3 separate regions of the Homo sapiens genome follow, and regions 1 and 2 are each linked to region 3. Evidence: promoter capture Hi-C in human tissues and cell types (Jung and others, 2019). All regions are on one chromosome and are shown on one strand. The core of a region is centred on a gene start or on the middle of the fragment in contact, and the rest is flanking DNA. Distances in the headings are between cores, read along the strand shown.

What was found. The method cuts DNA at HindIII sites, captures the fragments that hold promoters and counts their contacts. A contact is called where the count stands out against the background at its distance.
Region 1: a contact is called between a fragment that was not itself captured here and the fragment with the promoter of SMYD4 in region 3, in 1 of the 25 tissues and cell types used here (heart right ventricle).
Region 2: a contact is called between the fragment with the promoter of MNT here and the fragment with the promoter of SMYD4 in region 3, in 1 of the 25 tissues and cell types used here (lymphoblastoid cells).

Annotation. Positions count from the first base shown.
Region 1 is chr17:1,256,642-1,260,102 of GRCh38, forward strand. No RefSeq gene overlaps it. Among named protein-coding and RNA genes, the nearest start is that of BHLHA9, 12 kb to the right of the region's middle. The HindIII fragment of the contact is 4,603 bases long and covers 1-3,461 here.
Region 2 is chr17:2,399,504-2,403,041 of GRCh38, forward strand. It overlaps MNT (MAX network transcriptional repressor), which reads right to left and starts at 1,557. Exons shown (of 6, transcript NM_020310.3): 1 at 1,137-1,557. The coding sequence starts at 1,209. RefSeq lists enhancers at 1-241, 242-812, 2,103-2,152, 2,524-3,094, 3,095-3,538 and silencers at 33-522, 1,043-1,102, 1,253-1,332, 1,523-1,832, 2,483-2,802. The HindIII fragment of the contact is 14,706 bases long and covers 1-3,538 here.
Region 3 is chr17:1,828,208-1,831,692 of GRCh38, forward strand. It overlaps SMYD4 (SET and MYND domain containing 4), which reads right to left and starts at 1,695. Exons shown (of 11, transcript NM_052928.3): 1 at 1,519-1,695. RPA1 (replication protein A1) reads left to right here and starts at 1,798. Exons shown (of 17, transcript NM_002945.5): 1 at 1,798-1,919. The coding sequence starts at 1,887. RefSeq lists a silencer at 1,547-2,066 and an enhancer at 2,694-3,194. The HindIII fragment of the contact is 28,265 bases long and covers 1-3,485 here.

The DNA of each region.
Region 1 (3,461 bases), core at 237-2,736, 570 kb before region 3:
CATGTTGGTCAGGCTGGTCTTGAACTCCTGACCTCAGGTGATCCACCCGCCTCAGCCTCCCAAAATTGCTGGGATTACAGGCGTGAGCCACCGCACCCGGCCAAGAGAGATCACTTTAGTGAGAGAACGGAGGGTGGACGCCAGGAAAACAAGCAGAAATGGAAACCACACCGGCCAGCTCCTGGCGGGTGGAGGTGCTGGGTGGGAGCAGTTTCCTTCCTGGCTTCTTTCTCCGGCGCTCACTGCAGCAGCTTCAAGGGTGAGAGTTGGAGGCCACAGAGCCGGGGCCCATCCGGCTGTATGTGTGCGGGTGGGGGTCGGGGGACAAAGGCTGACGCCCCATGCTCACCAGTCCACCCCTCGCCAAGCTTCCCCGGCTGCCCAGCACTTCCTTCTTCCTTTCCCTCACCTGCCAGACTCCTATCTCTGAGGCAGTTCTGATCTCTTTGATCATGTTCACCTGCCTCAATTTCATGCACATGAGGGAAATTTTTCTGACTCCTTGTAGGCCTGAAACCCCTTTTTTAATTCTACTTTTTTTTTTTTTTTTTTTGATGGAGTCTTGCTCTGTCATCCAGGCTGGAGTGCAGTGGCACGATCTTGGCTCACTGCAACCTCCACCTCCCAGGTTCAAGCAATTCTCCTGCCTCAGCCTCCCAAGTAGCTGGGATTACAGGAATGCACCACCGAACCCGGCGAATTTTGTATTTTTAGCAGAGACGGGTTTTTGCCATGTTGGTCAGGCTGGTCTTGAACTCCTGACCTCAGGTGATCCACCCGCCTCGGCCTCCCAAAGTGCTGGGATTACAGGCATGAGCCACCGCGTGCGGCCTATTTCTACTTTTTAGAGACTGGGTCTCGCTTTGTCGCCCAGGCTAGAGTGCAGTGACGTGATCTTTGCTTACTGCAGCCTCAAACTCCTGGGCTCAAGGGATCCTCCCACCTCAACCTCCTGAGTAGCTGGGACTACAGATGCATACCACCACCCCCAGCTAATTTTTTAATTTTTCGTAGAGACAGGGTTTCTTAATAATAATGATATGACAATATTGATTCGTTAATTGTAATAAATGTACTACAGTAATGTGATATGTTAATAACAAGGAAATGGGTTCAGGATACATGGGGGACTCTTGGTATTCGCTTCTCAGTTTTTCTGTACATCTTTTTTTTTTCTTTCTTTCTCTTTTGAGGCAAAGTTTCACTCTTGTCCCCCAGGCTGGATTGCAATGACACAGTCTCCACTGACTGCAACCTCCACCTCCTGGATTTATGCGATTCTCCTGCCTCAGCCTCCCAAGTAGCTGGGATTACAGGTGTGTGCCACCACATCTGGCTACTTTTTGTATTTTTAGTAAAGACGGGGTTTCACCATGTTCGCCAGGCTGGTTTCAAACTCCTGACCTCCAGTGATCCACCCACCTCAGGCTCCCAAAGTGCTGAGATTACAGGCAGGAGCCACTCGCTCGGCCTAGTTTTTCTGTACATCTAAAATCATTCTAAAAAATAACGTTCATTAAAGCACAAAAAATGGGTGGCCGGTCGCGGCGACTCACGTCTGTAATCCCAGCACTTTGGGAGGCGGAGGTGGGTGGATCACGAGGTCAGAAGTTCGAGACCAACTTGGCCAACATGGTGAAATCCCATCTCTACTGAAAATACAAAAAATTAGCCGGGCTTGGTGGCGCATGCCTGCAATCCCAGCTGCTCGGGAGGCTGAGGTGGAAGGATTGCTTGAGCCCAGGAGGTCGAGGCTGCAGTGAGCTGTGATTATGCTACTGCCTCCCAGCCTCAGTGACAGAATAAGACCCTGTCTCAAAAAGCAAAAACAAAAAACAAAAAAACACCCCCCAAAAACCCATGAAAGATCAAAAAGCAACTGGAGAGAGGGAATAATAGCTAGCGGCTCAAAGTGTACCTTCTGTGAGGGTGGGAGTGGAGATGCTTCCCCCACCGCCCCAGCAGCAGGGTTATCTTCAGACAGCAGGACGTGCAAATGGGTGCAGACAGATCTCTTTGTGGGCCCAGGCAGGAAGCTGAGGGTTCGCATCTGATGGTATCAATTTTTCCTCTGAGACAGGAGAGGTGGGCTACGTGCAATGAAACTGCGGGTTGTACATGATGAAGACCTGAAGGTCCTCCAAGAGAAGTGCAGGAAGAACCTGACCAGCGCAAAAGAGCAGCTTCCTCTCCCAGCACAGATGACAAGACATAAAACTTCAGCTTTTGCAGGGGCAGCCCCAGGTGGACAGCACCAAGCAGCAGGGCCTTAGCCCAACAAGAGGCCTGAACTGAGCGCTTCATGGGGTTCAACTTTTTTCTTTTTTTTTTGAGACGATGGAGTCTTGCTCTGTCGCCCAGGCTGGAGTGCAGTGACGTGATCTGGGCTCACTGCAACCTCCACCTCCCAGGTTCAAGCGATTCTCCTGGCTCAGCCTCCCAAGTGGCTGGGATTACAGGCGCCCGCCACCACGCCCGGCTAATTTTTGTATTTTGGTAGCGACGGGATTTCGCCATGTTGGCCAGGCTGGTCTCGAACTCCTGACCTCAAGAGATCCGCCCGCCCAGGCCTCCCAAAGTGCTGGGATTACAGGTGTGAGCCACCGCGCCCGGCCTGGAGTTCCACTTTCTGACCAGAAGAGGGCGCCGGGGTTCCACTTTTGTTCTTCACGCCCCACGTTTCTCTTTCCAAAGTTGCTAAGGTTTGGAGTCTAGGAATAAAAAGTTCCCTTCTGAGTCCGCCACAATGATGGCGGGAGGCGGTGGGAGGGTGGGCGATGGTTTTGTTCCTTTGCTCGTTCACCCCGGTGGGGAGCCGGGGAGCCAGGGAGCAGAGTGTGGGAACTGGGTGGAGATGTCTGCGGAACGGTCACCCGGACACGGGAACACGGCTCTGAACGTCGGGAGAGAAGCTGCAGCTGAAAGGAGACATTTGACCTTTAAGGGATTGTCGGAAGAAGAGGAGCCGATCAAAAGGGACAGAAAAGGAGTGAGTGGGGAGAGATGCCAAAGAGAGGAGCCCAGTTCCCGCCGGGCACGCGGTTCAGCCTGTAGTCCCGGCGCTTTGCCAAGCGAGGCGGGCGGAGTTCGAGACCTGCCTGGCCCACAAAATGAGACCCACCCCACCCCCATCTCTACAAAAATAAAATACAAAAATAAATTAGCCCGGCGTGGTGACGGGCGCCTGCAGTCCCAGCTGCTCGGGGGAGGCTGAGGCAGGAGAACGGCGTGAACCCGGGAGGCGGCGCTTGCAGTGAGCCGAGATCGCGCCGCTGCACTCCAGCCTGGAGACCGAGCGAGACTCCGCCTCAAAAAAAAAAAATTAAATAAATAAAGTAATTGAGAACGGAAGCTTTGCAGTCAGGGGAAACTTACTGAGACTCAGTTTTCTCATCTGAAAACGGGGCGACGGATAACAAGGACCGTGAAGAATCCCCCAACGCGGGCGCCCCAGCTCAGAG
Region 2 (3,538 bases), core at 307-2,806, 570 kb after region 3:
GGGATCAAACACAGGAGGTTAGGGGCCAGAGCCGACAGGTGAGCTCGGCTCCTCCCTCGCAGGGCAAAGGCTCTCCCTGGGAGGTGCCCAGAGGCCGGGGCCCGGGCCCAGGCCCAACCCAGCGCAAGGCCCCTTGCCAGCCCCGCCCAGGCCCCGCCCCCGGCCGAGCGCGAGGCGGTGAGGAGGGGCCGGGCCGCGCCGTCCCCAGCAGGAGTGTCCCCGGTGCACGTGGTCGGGGGCGGAGCCCGTCCACGTCACCACCCGGTGTAACCAACGGGCTCGGAACGCAGGCACACGCAACATTCCAGGCGAGAGCGGGTTTGGAACGCGCAGACACGCCACATTCCACACTGGCTAAAGCGGGGCGCAGCGAGGGGGGCCCGGGGGCTGACCCCCAGCGACCCGCGGGCCATTTCGCAAACGCCCAATTAGCCCGGCTTTCACCCAAACCCCGGACGCGCAGCCCAGCCCAGCTCTGGGAGGCGGGGTCAGGCGGGGCTGGCCAGGATCATAAGACACGCGATGTCATTTCATTCTGCAAAGGCCGCCTCCGCCCCAAGCGGCGCGTAGATCTGCCGGGAGCGCCCCCCGCACCCTCCCCACGGGGCCAGGGAAGCCGAAGAGCTGCTCCGCGTAGAGTAGTCCCCACCCCCACTCCGTTACACACACGCCCACTCGTGTGCTATACACACGCCCGTGTACACGTCCGTTCATCTGCTCTTCCCGAGGCTCACATCACACATCCCCCGTGCACACACGCACGCACACGCGAGCCTGCCACCCCCACGCAACACCATTCCTCACCCCACCCCCCGGCTCACACATCCTCAGTGCCACCGAGGGCTCCGCTGGCCCACGCAAAAGCAGCCCACCACAGAAGGGGCACAGGGGTGCCACGCAGCCGGGGTGGCGCCCGCAGGAGCCAGGTCCCTCGCAGCATGTTAATGAATTCATTAATTAATTTCACTGCCCACATCACCCCTCCCCAGGCGGCGGCTCTCGCGGGGAGCCGTGCGCTGCCAGGCTCCGCAGGCCGCCCGGGAGGGGGCCCTGTCCGCGGTTTCGCGTGGGTTCGGGGACCGGGGTCACTCGCTTCCCCTTCCCCAGTGCCCCAGGGGCCCAGCCCGGCCGCTCACCACGTGCTCTCTGTTGTTGCTGCGCTTGCCATTCCAGGAAGCGGGCCGCCTCCAGTAGCGTCTCTATGCTCATCGCGCCGAGAGCTGCCGGGGGCGCGCCGGGGCCGAGGCTGCGGCCCGCGAGCCGGGCACAGGTCAGGCTGGCGGGCAGGCAGGAGGGAGGGATCACCTCCGGGGGGCGACAGGGCTGGGCGGCGCAGCGCACTCCGCAGGGAAGAACGGGGGAGCACGGGGAGAAAAATCAATGTCTCTCAAAATATTTGCAAAATATAAAATTGCAAATTTAAAAAAATGGGATGCAAAAAAAAAAAAAAGGCGGCACTGCCTCCCTTCTTCCCCTCCCTCTCTACCTCCCTTCCGATGCCTCCCGCCCCGCGGCCCCCGGGAGTCCCGCCGACAAGAAAGGGCTTTGCAACAAGATGGCGAGGAGGCACCGACACACACAACAAGGGAAGGAGCCGCGCTGCCCCCGGCCGCCGCCCCCGCTACTACACCGGGGCCACAGCCAAAGCCCGGACCGGAGCCCCCGCCCGCAGGGCCGCGGCGTCTCGCGAAGGGAGGGGCGGGTCCTGCGCTGCTGGCCCCGCCCCCCGGATCCGGCGCGCGCACACGTGGCCCGGGCAGGGAGGGAGAGGTCCGAGCGGGGTGTGCGCGCCGCGGTTCCGCTTTCCTGCTGGCCCCGCCCCGGCTGCAAGCCACAAGTTGGGCCGGGGCGGTGCGTTTGGGTCGTTCACGACGAAATCTGTCCTGCTGGAGGGAGGGTAGGGTGAACAATTCAAGATTTAACAGAGTTCCAACCAGGATATTCCGGGTCAGGGAAACCTTGGGAATGGCAGAGACTGGCCTGACCCTGGGTCTCCACGCTCCACCCACTCGCGACCTAAATCCCGCAATCGCCGGGCTGTCGCAATTCCCCCGGGATCCGCCCCTGGGCGGAGCTGCCGGCGACTGGAGACTGTCAAGAGAACCAGCGGAGGGAGCGGAGCGGCAGTCCGGCTCCGCGTTTTGTCTCCGTTCCTCCCCCCGCAGTGCGTTCGCATCCTATTAGGGGACGTCACCGGGCCGCGAGCCAATGGGCGGGCAGGACAACACGGCATGGAGCAGCTCCACATGGACACCCCGCGCCGCCAGCCTTCGGTTTAAAGGGCCAGTGTCTGCAGGTCACATTCGCGGGTGCGGATGGGGCCACTGGGCGAACCCAGGGTGGGATGCCGTAAGGGGAATCCCGCAGTCGTGCCCTGGCCTCTCCATTCCTTTTCACCACCTTCCATTTAAAACCAGGCCTTTATCTTTCCTTCCCCTGAACTCCAGTCTTTGTCCACGCGTATTCGATGTGGGTGGAGATACGGACTGTGCCACCCCATGGGCCACCCTTTCCTCTGGGGCCGGGGCCAGGGCGGGGAACACGAAGCGCCCGCAGCCCAGACCGGGGGGCGTGGCCCAAATCGGGAACAACAACGTGGAGGGCGGAAGCCCGGCCCTCCCCGCGCCTGGCGACCGGCGGTGGGCGGGGCGCGGGGGCGGGGTCCGCTGCGGCCGGCTGGAACCGCGCTCCCCAGAGGGAGGGACCCCCCGTCGCCCGCCCGCCCGCCCGCGTCTTCCGGGCTCGAGTGTTTAGGGGAGCTCGGGTGCAATCGGAGAGTTAGCTCTTTGAGGCCGGCTGCCCTTAAATCCTCTCACTTCACACATAAGGAAACTGAGGCCGTGACGGCCAAGGACTCGCCTAAGGTCGTTCCGTATTCCACCTGCTCCTCTCTCCCGAAGCGGGGGCACTCTTCCCTGACCCCAGGGACGACTCTGAAGCCAGTTCTGGAGGAGGGCCCCCAATTAGAAAAATGCCAGGGAGGAATAGCAACCCTGACCACTTAACACACTGTGATTGGGGCAACAAAAATCTTCACCTGAGACCCAACTCCGCTGTTCTGCTTCCTCGGTGGAAGCCACACGAACCCCACTGGTACAGCGGCAGCGATAGACCCCAGGCGGCTGAAAGCTTATTTGGAGCGTCCCGGAGCATGTCGATTGTGCTGTGCCAGTGCAGGGGGAGTACCCCTCAGTTCTGGCCCCAGGCTCCATTCTTTGCTAACCGGTCCAAGAAGTGGGGGGGCAGTCAGTGCCAGTGGGTTTAGAACTCCTCAGCCGCGGCTTCAACATCACACACAACCAGAAAGCAAACCTTCATGAGGCTGAGAGGCAGGCCGCCCTGCCAATACATTCCATCACATGGCACCCTCGGAGCGTTCCTATTTTAGGGACTGGTTGGAAGACAGCTAGAAACATAGAAAGCAGGCAAAATGTTTGCTGGCTTTACTCCTTTCCTTTGAGGGCATCGTCATGCATCCTAGGGGGGAAAAATCTGCACAGATCCTGGAAATCAAGAACTTCGTGAACCAGAGGAAGGG
Region 3 (3,485 bases), core at 445-2,944:
AGGTGTGGTGGCGCACACTTGTAGTCCCAGCTACTCGGGAGGCTGAGGCAAGAGAACTGCGTGAACTGGGGAGGCGGAGGTTGCAGTGAGCTGAGATCACGCCATTGCACTCCAGCCTGGGTGACAGAGCAAGACTCTGTCTCGGAAAAAAAAAAAAAAGGAAAATCAAGATTTCATTCAAGGAAGCCTGAAACAATAAAATCAATTCTTGTGGTCTTTTCCTCTAGTTTATATGCTAAGGAAGGATCTATATTTTCTCACAGCAATTCACTCAACATCCTTCCATTCAGAAATATTTACTGAAAGACTACTTTGTCACAGGCACCATGCAGGTGATGGTTATACAAAGACGAAGCAGACTAGATAGCTACCATCTGTGCTCTTAGATCCTCTTTTTTTTTTTTTTGTGAGGCAGAGTCTTGCTCTGTCACCCAGGCTGGAGTGCAGTGGCACCATCTCGGCTCACTGCACCCTCCGCCTCCCAGGTTCAAGCAATTCTCCTGCCTCAGCCTCCGAGTAGCTGGGATTACAGATGCGCGCAACTACGCCCGGCTAATTTTTGTATTTTTAGTAGAGACGGGGTTTCACCATGTTGGCCAGGCTGGTCTCGAACTCCTGACCTCAGATGATCCGCCAGCCTTGGCCTCCCAAAGCGCTGGGATTACAGGCGTGAGCCACCGCGCCCGGCCTGATCCCTCTCTAGTTTCTCTGAGACACATCCCAGATTTTTCTTTCTCACCCACCCCAGCAACTATTCATTTAACAAGGTATTTCCCTCTCTTACATAGTTCAGCGTTCTGATTAAGTCCTCACCATCTCGTCTGGCATTCTTCCTAGAGTGTTATAATTAATGTCCATGCCATTGGCACCACTCCCCACTTTCAATCCAGCCTCCAACACTGAGACAGAAGTCAGTGCTCTGCCCTTAAATTCATCAACGCTACTCCAAGCATACCAGGAAGCCCAGGACAAAACCATCCTTACTTGACCCTTGTCTGACTTTCTAATTCTCAGGTGTCACTTACTCCTCTGCATGCACCCTTGCATACTGAACAACTCATTGCTATCCCCGGCTTGCCAGGCTATTTCAACTCTCCAATGTTTTGGCATAGGCTACTCATGCTTTCCGGACCAACCCTACCCTGGCTTATGGAGTCCACCTGGAAAATTCCCACACGTTCTTCGACTCGGCTCAAATGGCACCTCCTCCGGGACGGCGTCCCTGATTTCCCAGCTGTGATTCCAACACCCTTGGGGCCTGTACCACGTCTACCTGGAGGTGGGGTTACTGACGGCATAAAGTGCCCCCACACACTGTCCTCTTCTCTAAGGACGGGGGCCGGGTCTGATTCCCTTTCGGAGACCCCCCACCCCCACCCCCCACCGCCACGGTGCCAAGCTCAGGGCTTGGAGGCGGGAAGTCAGCCCCGCGTTGCTGGACGAATCGGGTCACTACTGCGACTCTATTTAGCAGCGGAGGTCTCAAGGAACAGCTTTAACCTCCTCTGGGATACCAACCCGTGCACTCGCCAGAGACCGAGGCGAGAACGCCTCGAGAACCGCTCAGACGCGCCCGGAACTGCGCCCTGGTCTCCCTCCCAGCGCCCGCGCAGCTCCTGGCGCGCCCCTTGGCGCCCCGCTCCGCCCCGCACCGCGTCCGGCGTCCCGCGCCAGGCCTCGCTTGGGACCATGGGTGGGTCACGTGGGCCGCGCCTCGGCCAATGCGGCGGCTGCGTAGCGCCCGGGCCCGCCCCTGAGCCGCGCGCACGTCGGGGGCGGGAGCGGTGCGCGCAACTTCTCGGGCCAATAACTGCGCAGCGCGCGGGACCCGGGTGGGGAAGCTGGAGCTGTTGCGGGGTCCGCGGGGAAGTCTTGGCGGTGGAGCCATGGTCGGCCAACTGAGCGAGGGGGCCATTGCGGTGAGGAGGTGCCGGGGGCTGGGCCGGCGGTCCGGGGTGGCTGCGGCCCCGAGCCTCGCGGAGTAGAGAGGGGGAGGGGAGCCCGGGGCGACGGGGGATGAACGCGAGGGGAGGAGATGGCGGGGGGCGGTGGGGACCCGCCGGGCGTCCCTCTAGTGTCATCGCCCCCTCCTCAAAGCATTCTTTCGATCGTCTTTAAAACATGCTCACATTTTTCCTACGTAAGAACAAACTAAATAAACGCTTGCCTTTCTCTGCATCTTCCACCTGCGGACACTTTCTGTCTCTTCTCCTTTCCCCACCCACAGCCAAACTTCTTGTCTGGTTTCAGCCACTTCCTTTCCTCGCCTTTCATCAACTCTTTAACCCACTCCAGTCATCCCTTTGATCGCTGTAGAAAACCCTGGCTGAAGGTACCAGTGGCCTCCAAGTTGCTAAATCCAGCCCTTTTCCGTTTTCAGCTTACCTGAGTTCTCAGCAGCGTTTGCGTTTAAGCCCTGCTTGCTTCAGGTCACACCCTCTTCCTTGGTTTTTAGTGGCTCAGCTTGGCAGGTCTATCCCCGTCTTATTTGTAAGTCCCTCTTTGTAAATTTTTGTTGAATCAAGGCTCCCTCTAGGCCCTCTTGACTCCCGAGGCAATTTCTTTTTTTTTCTCCAGCCTGGGCGACACTCACTGTCGCCCAGGCTGGAGTGCAGAGGCGCGATCTCGGCTCACTGCAACCTCCGTCTCCCGGGTGCAAGTGAGTCTCCTGTCTCAGCCTCCCGAGTAGCTGGGACTACATGTGTGCGCCACCACACTCGGCTACTTTTTGTGTTTTTATTAGAGACTGGGTTTCATCATGTTGGCCAGGCTGATCTCGAACACCAGACCTCAAGTTATCCGCCCGCCTCGGCCTCCCAAAATGCTGGAATTACAGGCATGAACCACCGCGCCTGGCCCCAAGGCAATTCCATTGCCATCTATTAATATATGTCAGTTGCTCACAAATTTCTTTGTACAGAGCCACCTTTACTCTAAAAGACAAACTTCCGTCATCTGTCTGCTTATTCCATGCTTCAGAGGGTTTTAAGTTCAGTATACGTATCCCAAAGCAAATTCTTTATCTTTCTAAGTCTGGGCCTCTTGATCCCTATCTCCACGGATGGCACCATTATCTATTCAGTTCAGTGCTAACCAGAAATTGAGAAATCATTCCTCCTATATTGTCCATTACCTGGGCATCCAGTCCCTCACGAAGTGAAGTGTATTTTGCCTCTGCGTAGATCTATCAAGCCCACTGGCTTCTCTCCATCCATACTGGCACCGTCTTTTTTTTTGCCTGAGCTGCTGACTTCCACTCAGCATACGTTCCTGCCACCATTCCCATCCACAGCATACTCTCAGCCTACCTCTCCAGTCACCCCCACATTTTTTTTTAAATTTAGATTTCTGGTATATTCCATACTCCTACCTTCTTCCATGGGGCCTTTGAACTTTTTTTTTTTTTTTTGAGCTGGAATCTTGCTCTGTTGCCCAGGCTGGAGGGCAGTGGCGCGATCTCGGCTCACTGCAAGCTCTGCCTCCTG